Regions from separate parts of the Homo sapiens genome. Here region 2 is linked to region 1. Evidence: promoter capture Hi-C in 16 types of primary human blood cells and fetal thymus (Javierre and others, 2016). All regions are on one chromosome and are shown on one strand. The core of a region is centred on a gene start or on the middle of the fragment in contact, and the rest is flanking DNA. Distances in the headings are between cores, read along the strand shown.

Region 1 (6,411 bases), core at 3,853-6,352:
GGTCCTCTCAGTCCTTCATCATCTTTTCTGTATTTGAATGGGGAGAGGCCATGGGAAAAGCACCGATCTTGGAATTAGAGGCTGGGTGCCATGGCTTACACCTGTAATCTCAGTGCTTTGGGAGGCCCAGTCAGGAGGATCGTTTGCCCAGGAGTTTGAGACCAGCCTGAGCAACATAGCGAGACCCTGTCTCTACAAAAACATAAAAGAAAATAAGGTCAGGCATGGTGGCTCACGCCTGTAATTCCAACTCTTTGAGAGGCCGAGGCAGGTGGATCACCTGAGGTCAGGAGTTCAACACTAGTCTGGCTAACACAGTGAAACCCCACCTCTACTAAAAATACAAAAATTAGCTTGGTGTGGTGGTGCGTACCTGTAATCCCAGCTACTTGGGAGGCTGAGGCAGGAGACTTGCTTGAACCCTGGAGGTGGAGGTTGCAGTGAGCTGAGATCACACCACTGTACTCTAGCCTGGGGGACAGAGCAAGACTTCATCTCAATAAATAAATAAATAAATAAATAAATAAATAAATAGCTGGGCATGGTGGCAGGCACTTGTAGTCTAGTAGCTTGGGAGGCTGAGGTGGGAAGATCACTTGAGCTCAGGAATTTGAGGCTGCAGTGAGCCATAATTTTGTCTCTGCACTCCAGTCTGAGTGACAGAGTGAGACGCTGTCTCAAAAAAAAAAAAAAAAAGAAAGAAATGGAATTAGTAACCCAACATTGTGTTCCATCCCTGACTTTTTACCAACTGTGTGACCTTGAGCAAGTCAGTGAATGTGGCTGGGTCTTGGGATCATTATCTGTAAAGTGAGATGGTTGTACTAAATGATCTCTAAGGTTTATTTTAGTTTTAACATTGTAGATCTATGCTGTCCAATATGGTAGCAACCAGCTACATGTGGCTATTGAGCCCTTGAATATGGCTAGTCCGAACTGACATGTGCTGTAAGTGTAAAATACACACTGGATTTCAAAACAAAAATGTAAAATATCTCAATAATTTTTTTATATTGGCAACATGTTGAAATAATATTTTGGACATGTTGGGTTAAGTAAAATATATTATTAATATTAATTTCTTTTTAAAAATGTTTTTACTTATTTATTTGGGTAGAGATGAGGTCTCCTTATGTTGCCCTGGCTGGTCTCAAATGCCTAGCCTCAAGCCATCCTTCCACTTTGGCCTCCCAAAGTGCCAGGATTACAGGCGTGAGCCACCACACCCAGCCACTTAATTTTAATTTCATGTGTTTCTTTTTACCTTTATAATAGGACCACTAGGAAACATAAAATTATACATGTGCCGCTATGGACTGAATTGGGACCCCCTCAAATTCCTATGTTGAAGCCCTAACTCCCTATGATGTATTTGGAGATGGGGCCTGTGGGAGATCATTTGGTTTAGATGAGGTTATGAGGTGAGGCACCATGATGGGATTAGAGTTGTTATTGGAAGAGACATCAGCGTGTTCTTTCTCTCTCTCTCTCTCTCTCTCTCTCTCTCTCCTCTCTCTCTCTCTGCCATGTGAGGACACAGTGAGAAGGCAGCCATCTATAAGCCAGAAAGAGGGCCCTCACCAGAAACCGACTATGCTGGTACCCTGATCTTGGACTTCTAGTCTCCAGAACTATGAGAAAATAAATTTCTGTTTAAAGCCACTAAGTCTATGGTATACTGTTCTGGCAGCCCAAACTGACCAAGACATGCGGTTTGTATTATATATTTCTGTTGGACAGCATTGGTCCAGATATCTGGGAACTCCTACATACCAGCCAGCCTTCTGGCACTTGTAACTTTCTGTATTGTGTCTGTGAGAGCACAGGCATGGTCTCCAGGCCAGTGTTTCCTCCCTAGCAGCTGCTCAATAAGCTTCTGGCAATTAAGTCATTTTCTTGGTTGTAAGAATATAAACAGTCTCTGGATAATGTATGTAAAAGAGGACCTCATTAAGAGAATATTGGGTAACAACTGGAATCTGCAGGGCAGAAGAACCAGGCTTGGAGGATATACTCAGGCAGACAGCAATGTCCCAAATCCCACTGCAGACTAGTCTGGGGGTGACTCCACTGCTGCCCCAGAGAACCAGAGCTGGCTGTCCATTGGCAGAGTGGCGTGGGTATGTGCTTCCAGCCTCATTAGTTTCCAGTTCAGAGTTCAGTTGACTGAGTTTGAATCGGGGACTCTAGCTGCAAGAGAGGCTGGGGCTGGGAAGGTGAGCAATTGCTTTTGAGCTTTTTTTTAGTGGAGAGTTGGGTCTTATCATAAGCAGAAGATTTATTCCTTTAACATTGGAAGGGTCTTTAGATGCTGGGCTGCCACATAAGGATGGAACCCTTTCCTTGTGTTGTCTGAGACCTTGAAATTTTGACTGCAACACAGCAGAAGTTCCATCAAGACTCCTCAGCTGGAACTCCTCCAGGCGAGAGGCTCTTCAGATCTCCTTGTTCTTGGGAAGGATGAAGCAGAACAGTTGACATCATACATTCTAATGCTACAATTATAATTTCATGATGTCCTTTGAAAATTCTCGCATGTTATTTTAATGTGGAGACACAGGAGGGCACTCTAACCAACTAGCAATAAAACCTAAATGGTTTCATAGCCTTGGCAGTTAAAAAATAGATGTTGATTTGTTGAACCTGTAAAACACAGGTTTTTCATTTACTTATTTATTTATTTGCAAAGGAGTTTCACTCTTGTTGCCCAGGCTGGAGTGCAATGGTGCGATCTTGGCTCACCACAACCTCCGCCTCCCAGGCTCACGCGATTCTCCTGCCTCAGCCTCCCGAGTAGCTGGGATCATAGGGATGCGCCACCACGCCCAGCTAATTTTTTGTGTATTTTTAGTAGAGATGGAGTTTCTCCATGTTGGTCAGGCTGGTCTCGAACTTCTGACCTCAGGTGATCCGCCCGCCTCGGCCTCCCAAAGTGTTGGGATTACAGGTGTGAGCCACTGCGCCCGGCCGGGTTTTTCTTTTTTTCTAGGCAGGATAACTAACTTTGCAGGACTACCTTCCAACAATACCCTGCAAAATACCCTAGCTTCCGTGGGGGTATCTCACCTATAACAAAGGCTCTCAAGACACACTCTCCACATTATCCAGTTAATGTTCTAGGGACCATGGCTATGAGCAACTCAGAACAGGGAAGGAGTTTTTTTCTTCTGATGTCCAGGCTGGAGTGTAGTGGTGTGATCATGGTACATTGCAGCCCTGAACTCCTGGGCTCAAGGACTCCTTCCGCCTCAGCCTCCCAAGTATTAATAGCTTGCACTACAGGTGTACCACCTTGCCTGGCTAATTTAAAAATTTTTTTTGGTAGAGATGAGTGTCTATGTTGCCAGGGTTAGGGAAGAGGACTTTTGACTACAGCTTACCCCCTGCCTCAGCCACTAGACCAGGTTGCCAAGAGCTCACATTTAAAGGTCAATTGGCCAAATTGAACCTAGAGCAGAGAAGAGAGACCTGGTTGTCTTGAGACTTTCTTCAAATCTGCAGCCTGTCCCCATGACTCAGTTTTCCCATCTGTAAAATGGAGATAACATTAGACCTATGTCTGTATAGTTTCCTCATGAAGAGAGAGACAGAGTGGGAACAACATATCCGGGGGTGATATTTACCATCGCACACAGACCATTGAGTTCTATACTAAAAAACTAAAGCCCGCCTGAGTCTTGTTAATGAATGATAGCACACGGGAGGGACAAAGCGTGCTCTGCTGGCAGCTGGAGTAACAAAAGTAATGAGGCGAGGTCGGAACAGGATCTGCTGGCTCCGGCTCGGTTTCCTCGCACAGGTCTCTCCAGCTGGATCCTCGACGCTAGGGAGGAAGGGGCGCGGGACTGCTGTGGGGGTTTTCCCTCCCCAGGCAGGGGCAGGACCTGTTCCGGGCGACTGCAGGGTTAAGGGTATCGTCTTAAAGAGCCGGATCCTCCCGGCTGGAGCGAGGCTGGATGGCGGGACGCAGCCTCTCAGCCTCTCGTACCCGCCCTGCGTCCGCAGTGGTTGTTGGCGCAGCCGCCCCGTCGGTGTTCCGGGCTCAGTCCCCGCTCCCCAGCGCCAGACGCAGACTCCGGGCCAAGTTCTCCCTCCGCTCGCTGCTTTCTGCCGCAGGACCCGGATCAATAAAGGGAAGGAGAGCCGGGAGGAAATGATGGAGAACAGAGAGAAAGGAGATGCTTGATTTCACTCGCCAAGGAGTGAGTGCTCATCGGCAGACACTGGGCTCTGGCCACGCGTCTTAGACTCCAAATCTCGGCTCACTGGTCCCTTTGAGGAGGTCGCCTGGTGTTCCCGTAGCCCTCCACCCCACCGTAGGAGAGCGCCTGCCACGAGCTCCGCGCCTCGCTAAGTGCTTTGCTACGTGAACTCTTAGTTTTCCCAACATCCCTAAGCCGCCGATACATTATCACCCACGTATTGCGGACGAGAGAACCGCCTCGGAGAAGCTGGCTGGCTCGCTTGGAGTTTTGCAGCTAGTGGCGGAGCGAGCATTCCGAGCAGGTACTGTGCGATCCTCCAGCGCCGGCCGCAGCTCACAGCCCCTTAGCTCCGCCGGGTTATTGTGCGGCCGCGCCTTCTGCACCTGTTGCGGCCCTCGCTAGGCGGGAAGGGAGGGAGAAGAGGAGGACAAAGGGGATGACCAGGTGGCTCTCCCCCGACGGACTCCCGGCCCAGGGAGCGGATAGACCACTCCCAGAGAGAGTGTGGCTTTGAGCCTTGGAGAGGATGCTCTCCTTCTCCAGGGATCGCCTCCCCAGCGGACGCAGAGTTTCAGGGAAATGTCCGCCTCCGCCACTTGGGATGGCAGTGGGGAGAGGAGGATCTGGGTGTCCGGAGGAGGGCAGTGGGAGAAAGCTGGAGCTGCTGGAGTCGCAGCTGCCTGCGGAGCGGGCCCGGGAGGAAGCGGGGCCGAGCGTGCGGCGTCCACGCGGTGAGTGTGCAGCGCTTTCATTCAAACTTTCTCCAGTCTCGGTTCCGGCGTCAGCAAGGTGTGACCAATCAGAGCCCAGAGACGGGAATAAATTATGCAAATCACCATCTGGCGATGGGTCAGATGACTCCCATACTTTTAAAAACTACCTCTATAGGAGCGTGACAGCAGCGAGTCCTTGCCTCCCGGCGGCTCAGGACGAGGGCAGATCTCGTTCTGGGGCAAGCCGTTGACACTCGCTCCCTGCCACCGCCCGGGCTCCGTGCCGCCAAGTTTTCATTTTCCACCTTCTCTGCCTCCAGTCCCCCAGCCCCTGGCCGAGAGAAGGGTCTTACCGGCCGGGATTGCTGGAAACACCAAGAGGTGGTTTTTGTTTTTTAAAACTTCTGTTTCTTGGGAGGGGGTGTGGCGGGGCAGGATGAGCAACTCCGTTCCTCTGCTCTGTTTCTGGAGCCTCTGCTATTGCTTTGCTGCGGGGAGCCCCGTACCTTTTGGTCCAGAGGGACGGCTGGAAGGTAACGTGAATTTGTTTTTATTCCCCCCAGCCACTTCTCTGTGCTGGGTCCCCTCTGTCTTGCTGATTCTTCAAACCCTCCTTGTTCCTATGAAATTCTTCCTTTCCCACTGCGCTGCCCATTCTCTCCTCCAATCCACCTTGGAGTCCACCTGTCTCTCTGCTGGTCTGATGGGGGCATTCCCGGCAAGTCATGCAAAAGGCAAAGGCTGGCAGGGTGCGCTGGCTCTTGCCAGCCCTCCCACCCCCACCTCCTTCCCTTATACGGCTCCCTAAGCCAGTGCTGGTGCTGTCCAGCCAGCCGAGCGGCCTGGCAGCAGCTCTGAAACCTTGTCCTCATGCCTGAACCTGGAGGTTTGAGAGGCAAGAAGGCTGTCAGAGCTGTGTCTCCTGGAGCTGCCTTTTAATCTTGGTGTAGGTGTCTTGAAAGTTCAGGTGGCAGGGTAGCTGGCTTTGGTTTGATTCGTGCTTGCAGGGAGCGTCTGGTGGGTCGCTTGTGCTTAGAAGCTGCCGGGCCTATTCCCCCAGGTTGCCAGCCTTTTCCTCTTCAACACTCTTGTGCTCCCCCGACTCTTCCTCTTCCCACTCCTCCTCCCTTTCCTCCTCCTGGCTTTTAGCTTCTCTTCCTCTTGGGTTCTGTATGGCAGCCTTTGCCAGTGGAGGCAGCTTGCCCTGGGGGAGCCAGAGTCAGTCAGCTCTGGGGGAGTCAGAATCAGAGTGAGAACTAAGTCAGCTGATAAGCAGTGGAGGGCTGGGGAGCCTCTAAACTGAACCCCATCATCTCATCTTCTAGTCTGCTGAGGTTGTGCCAAATGGTCTGTGTGGGCTTGTGTATGTGTGGGAGGGTTACTGTGAATGAATGGAAAGCCTTGCTTTACTCAACATGTTTCCAACTCTGGTGCTAACTAGAAGCATTGCCTAGGGCAGGTCTCATCTCTGGCTCCTCACCTGTAAAATGCTA
Region 2 (6,785 bases), core at 3,837-6,336, 870 kb after region 1:
TATGGTTTGAATATTTGTACTCGCCAAATTTCATGCTGAAATTGCAATCCCTAATGTTGGAGGTGGGGCCTGAGGGGAGGTATTTGGGTCATTGGGGTGGATCCCTCATGGCTTGATGCTGTCCCCCTGATAGTGAGTTCTCATGAGATCTGGTTGTTTGAAAGTGTGTGGCACCTCTGCCTGTCTCTCTTGCTCTGGCTATCCCCATGTGACACACCTGCTCCCCCAGTCCCTCTTTACCTTCTGCCATGATTGGAAGATTCCTGAGACCCTCACCAGAAGCAGATGCTGGAGCCATGCTGATACAGCCTGCAGAACCATGAGCCAATTAAATCTCTTTTCTTTATACATTACCCAGCCTCAGGTGTTTCTTTATAGCAATGCAAGAATAGCCTAACACAAGGGATCAAGGAAAATTTCCGGGGGAAGTTGCACTTATGCTTAGACCTGAGAGTGATTAGGAAGAGATGGGTTCCAAGTAGAAGGAACAGCATCTAACATAGCCATAAATGACACATATACAGGTGAGAATCCAGGAGTATGCCCAACCTTCAAGTGTATCTTATACTTACCCTTTTCTTCCCTGCTTAAGAGAGCATGTAGAAGAATATAAAGTGAGCAATAAGTCATTGTAGGGATAAATATGAATCTGCTCTAACTTTTTAAAAAGATAAATCGTAAATTATTTACAAGTTTTCTGTTAACTGAGAGTCCAGATATGATCCCACAGACATGCACTTTCAAGATGATTTAATGTTCCAGACAGTGTCTTATGCATAGACATTCATAAGGAAACAAAAAAGTCATAAGGGGCCAGGTGTGGTGGCTCATGCCTGCAATGCCAGCACTTTGGGAGGCCGAGGCAGGCAGATCACCTGAGGTCAGGAGTTCGAGACCAGCCTGGCTAACATGGTGAAACCCTGTCTTTACTAAAAATACAAACAATTAGCCAGGCATGGTGGTGGGTGCCTGTAATCCCAGCTACTGGGGAGGCTGAGGCAAGAGAATCACTTGAACCCGGGATGCAGAGGTTGCAGTGAGCTGAGATCACACCACTGCACTCCAGCTTGGGTGGCAGAGCAAGATACCTTCTCAAAAAAAAAAAAAAAAAAAAAAAAAAAAGGCCAGGTGCGGTGGCTCACGCCTGTAATACTAGCACTTTGGGAGGCTGAGGCGGGTGGATCACGAGGTCAGGAGATCGAAACCATCCTGGCTAATATGGTGAAACTCTGCCTCTACTAAAAAATACAAAAAATTAGCCAAGCGTGGTGGCAGGCACCTGTAGTCCCAGCTACTTGGGAGGCTGAGGCAGGAGAATGGTGTGAACCCAGGAGGAGGAGCTTGCAGTGAGCTGAGATCACGCCACTGCACTCCAGCCTGGGTGACACAGTGAGATTTCATCTCAAAAAAAAAAAAAAAAAAGAAAGAAAGAAAGAAAGAAAGAGAAAAAGTCATTAGAGAATGCACTGAAGCAGGAAATGTGAAAAAGAAAAACAAATTTTCCTCTCTCCTTTGGTATGAGTAAACGTCCCCCACAAAATTCCTCCCCACTCCATGTGGTTGTACTCTGCTCTGCAAGTTTTATGAGTTTATGGATTCCTATTTTCTGTAACTAGTGACTGTAAATTTCTGTTTTTCATCTGAGTAGCACAGTGAAGGTCATGAGACATGCCTGAGCAGGACTGGACTGCAGCCATCTAGGCACCATAGTGAAGGATATGAGATAAGCTTGTGCAAGGCTCTTGAGCAAGCTGAGATAACAGCCATCTGGGCCGCATAGCAAGAGTCACATGAAAGCCTGAGTTATGAACCTGTCACAGTTTGATTAACTGCCTTTGTTCTGCTTCCGTACACTTGCTTTCATGCCACTGCACTCCACGCCACTGTAAACTTGTTTCAAACTAGCCAACCACCTTTCAGAAGTGTGTATAAAAGTCAAGCCCTGTCTTTGTTCAGAGCCCAGCCTTTGGATGTTAATCCACGGGGCCTAAGTGCATTCAATAAAATCTTCCTGTTCCACCCAGAGGTCTCTCCAGTCTCCTGATTCCCGCAACAGCACCATCTCCCCAAAGGTAATCACCATTAAGAGTGAAAACAAATTCTTCTAGTGTTTTTCCTTTCCAAAAAGATACACATTATCAAATTTACAAAAAGAGCCTTATGTAATACATGTATGACTGGCTTTTAACATGTGATAGATTATAAACATTTTCATGTTAATAAATACTGTTTTATAATATAGTTTAAATACCTACAGGCTGGGTGCAGTTGCTCACACCTGTAATTCCAGCACTTTGGGAGGCCAAGGCAGGCAGATCACCCGAATCAGGCATTTGAGACCAGCCTGGCCAACTTGGTGAAACCCCATCTCTACAAAACACAAAATTAGCCAGGCGTGGTAGCACACTCCTGTAGTCCCAGCTACTCTGGAGGCTGAGGCAGGAGAATTGCTTGAATGCAGGAGGCAGAGTTTGCAATGAGCCAAGATCATGCCACTGCACTCCAACCTCCTGGTTTGATCCCAGGGATCAAAGCCTGGGCAGTAAAGTGAGACTCTGTCTCAAAAAAAATAAATAAATAAATAAAATAAAAAAATAAATACATACTTTCTCATGTGATATATTTAATTAGTTCTGTATTGTTAGGCATTTTGGGTTCTTCCAAATTTTTATAAACATTATATCTCAAAAAAGTCTGTAAGTTGTGTAGATAAATCTTTCTAGCTTTAGAACTTCTATAAGCATTTCTTCCTTTTCTTAGGCTGAATCTGAGACCCACTCATCATACTTTGATTAGGTGATACAACAAAGAAAAATTTGGTTGTGAAAGCAGCAAGAGTAGAAAAAGCATTATGACTTCATTTTTATAAATAAGGCTTTCAATTTATATTTCCATGATAACTTTATCATTTGTTGATATTTATTTACCAAAGTGCTACAGAACTCTTCAAAATATGAAAAGCCATGGGATTTAACCATACAACAAAAATAATAATATTTTAAAATAATGTTTACCATTATATCAGAATGGAATGATTTTAGGTCTGAAAAAAGATGTTTACCATTACAAAACAAAGGAGGGTAATTTTAAAACTTGCTTTCATAATTTGTAATCAAATTTGGTAAAAAACTAATACTTCATGTAAATTCAGGGGGAGGTTGATTCATTCCAAGTTCAGGTTATTTAAAGCATTTAAAACTACACAAATGGCAAACCATTAATCATAATTAAAATAAACATAAATGGGATTGTTTATGGTCTTATGATACCGATTTTAGTTTGGAGCGTCATAAACCATCAGTCTAAATTTACTGTGTCCAAGTAGACTTGACTTGTTGGATTAGAATGTGTAAACTGCTTAAAAACATAATATATTGCCCTCAGGAATTTCAATATTTTTGATGCATATTTTAAAATTGAAATAACTTGTCAGTCTTCTATTTACTGTTGAAAAGTATTTAAATCTTTTTCTATTGTCTTCCTAATTGAAGTCAACCATCATTTAATTTTTCTCCTTAGTGTTTCTGCTTCCCTTACCTTATTCAGTAATAAACTTATTACTGCTGTCCTTATTATAATATTATCACTGATAAGATGAATTTATGGGTGTTGTGGAATTCTCAGTTGATTTCATAAAAGTTTATGACTCCTTTAAAATTTTAGTGAAAAATCCCAAAATATTGTTGTCTTGTTGATGTCCATCTGATTTAGAATTTCTTAATCTCTAGTGCTTTAAGAACTAATGTTTATGCTACTTTGGGATCATTAGTAGTTAGCTCAAAGATGATTTCTTGTACTAGAGATTCTTGATCATCTAGAAGCATCCTTTAAGAAGGATGTTTTAGAAACATACTTAATCTTGAGGGATGTGCTAAACTTTTCTTCATTCCATCTGGGTCCATTCTTGCTGTAGTTAATTGTACTGTTTGGGCAGTTATTGTTGGCTTAGAGCAAATTGGTTCTTGTCATTCTTCTGCTTACCTCTCTGGGCCTCACTTCCCAGGACTCCTTACTCTCTCCACCTGCAGTAAGGCTGAGTCTCAGAATTCAGCTTGAAGGCTGCCCCCAATTCCCTGAAAGCTGGGCCAATTGTCAGTGACCTATGTTCCCAAAGGACACTTTCCTGGTGCTTAGCTCCCTGTGGCTATTGCCCCAGGGGGCCAGGGAGGAGGTGGCAGAGTATTCATCCTGGGGACATAGTGGGAGGCAGGACCACGTCTGAGTTGAGGCTCCAAGTCCCTGGCATGTGCCTCATTGGCTCATCAGACCTCACTTATAAAACACAGATTCCAAGAGAAAATTAGGAAAAATTTTAAGACAGCAACCAGAGAGCATTACTCCAAAAAAGAGGCCCTCTGAGGAGGAGCCAGGGGCTGAGACTGCATTGGCCACTCTCTGAGGAAGCTGGCCCCACACATATTAATTCATTTCATCCTCCCAACAACCCACTTGTACAGATGTGGAAAATGTTACACTGAAAGTAACCAACCAAACATCCTGTTAACCAATAAATGAGTGACTGAGGCAAATGTCTCAATCAGTAGAGGTTTATTGAGCCAAAGTTTGAGGACATGCCCAGGAAAAACACAAGCCACAGAAACATCTGTGACCTGTGCTGTTTCCAAAGAGGGTTTCGGGAACTCAGTATTTAAGGGGACAGAGCAAGCAAAGGGAGGGAGGGTAGGCAGTGAGGCAAATGATTATATTCTGGTAAGGCTCTCCTTCATGCTCAGTAAGTCTACGTTTTATGTAAGATAAGGTGAATATCTGAAAAGAGGGAGTAGAGGCAAGAGTCAATTACACACACATCTCAGGGGAGGCAGAGGAGTGATTGATCTCAGCTTGTCCTTGTTCTACACCTGGGAAGATAAGTTTGTAATCGACATTGTCAGTGTGAGATTTAACAGAACTTGGTTGTAGGAGTTAAACTTAGATTGCAGACCCAAGGTTACCATGGGCATGTGCTTGTTTTATAGGGGGGATATGTCATCTGAAATATTTAGGGGCTAGCAAGGAATTTCCTTGTAATTTGTGAGGGAGGCCATCCAGAGAGTTATATGGCCTTTTGTCATTGTGAGAACCTGGCTTATTTCACAACACAGGGCTGTGAAATTACAGCTATCTGTTCGGGGGGAAAACGAATGGCTGTGTTGTATGACTCAGTTCCCAGGCTTAATTGTCCCTTGGGCATAACAAGTTTAGGGATCCTGAGGTTTTATTTTCTTTTACAATCCCATGTCTTCTAAGTGGCATAGCCAGGATTTGAACTTGGGTAGTAGTACACCCCTATGGTCTCTGCTCTTAAACTTTCTGCTAGCTCACTCCTCCTGTGCTACGTAAGTGAATGCTAGAATTCATAGCTCTAGGAGGCTGGAAGCAAAGGGAAGAAAACCATCTGTTTGTGCTTCTCCTCCATGTGTAACTACCTAGGTGGAGTCTAAGTTACTCAGGTCTTAGGTCTCTGCTGAGGACTGATGGTGTCTCCTGTTTACATCTAACAATGTTAACAATCAGCATGGCCTGGCACATAGCATTGTTCTCCTCATCATCATCAAAAAGAAAAAGTCTTCCCTGTATATATGTGCACATAAAAATATATAATATATATTTATATAAATTACTCACATATTTAAGAACGTGTAACATTTAAAAAAAAAAACAAAAACCTTTGCTGTATTTTAAAAAAATAGATCTGTATTGCCCTCTAGTGGCCATGAAAATTTAAACGGTGGGTAACCCTAAAAGAGAATAGCAGCTGTTCAAGTGCCAACCATAAAAACATCAACCCTACTACCTCCATATATTGCTGGGGTGCAAACAGGCATGCTCACAGCGACCAGGTAGGTGATGTCACAGGGAAGTGGGCTGGGACAACATGGAAATGGTCCAACACTTCCCTCTCCAAAGGGGGAACCTCTACTGAGTTCCAGCTTATGGCTGCCCTGAAGAAGACGGGCCAGTTGCTAAAGAGAAGCTCCAGAACCAGGTATTTATGTAAGAGTGCCCAATGTTTCAGTGTAGGAAATCAACTAATTTTTAATTCCCAGTCTCTGGGTGTGTCATTCACATTTCTGTGGGTTAGATTTAGGCTGCAAGTCTAGCCACTTGCTCATATGTGCTGGACAAAACTTACAGGAGGCCTTTGTTTTGGATTAGGCCCCAGCAGACCAAACCAAAATGGAGTCACTCATGCTAAGGTTACATATCACCAAGCTGAAAATAAGTTGTTTATCTGACCTTCTGAGAAATCAGGAGAGAGAGAGAGAATGGCCAAATCCCCAAACAGACCAGTCCCAGCCAGCATAAGGAAGTCCCCTCTGCTTTAACATTTTTTTTTTACAAGGAAAGTCGCTTTGAAATGACCAATTTGCTTTTTGTTTTGTTTCTGCTTTCCTCAGCCTTTCTTTGTCTATAAACCAATCTCCTCTGCTCAGCTCAGCAGAACAATTATTCTATTTTATGGAATGAAGTGTTGCCTGATTCTAAAATTGCAAATAAAGCCAATTAAAATATTTAAAAATTTGTGGTAATTTTGTTTTTTGACACTTCTGACCTTTGGTTAATTGCTACTTACTGTCTAATGGGCACTGTGCTCAGGGATTTACGTACAGTATCCCCTTTAGCCTGCAAAACAACCCTGTTACAGTTTAGCCCCCTTTCATAGATGAGGCTGAGAGAAGTTACCTGAATTGCCTAAGGTCATGTGGTCTGTGAAAATCAGAGGTGGAATTTGAACACAGCTCTTCCTAACTCCAAAACCCACGATTTTAAGCCCCGCACTTATT

What was found. Contacts are between HindIII fragments. The CHiCAGO score rates a contact against its expected background, and 5 or more counts as called.
Region 2: a fragment that was not itself captured here is called in contact with the fragment with the promoter of LIPG in region 1 in 1 of 17 cell types (total B cells); the score reaches 5.5 in total B cells.

What each region holds. Positions count from the first base shown.
Region 1 is chr18:49,556,955-49,563,365 of GRCh38, forward strand. LIPG (lipase G, endothelial type) reads left to right here and starts at 5,103. Exons shown (of 10, transcript NM_006033.4): 1 at 5,103-5,451. The coding sequence starts at 5,355. RefSeq lists an enhancer at 5,310-5,810. The HindIII fragment of the contact is 7,229 bases long and covers 1,872-6,411 here.
Region 2 is chr18:50,423,580-50,430,364 of GRCh38, forward strand. No RefSeq gene overlaps it. Among named protein-coding and RNA genes, the nearest start is that of SKA1, 52 kb to the left of the region's middle. RefSeq lists a cis regulatory region at 1,476-2,096. The HindIII fragment of the contact is 6,721 bases long and covers 1,727-6,785 here.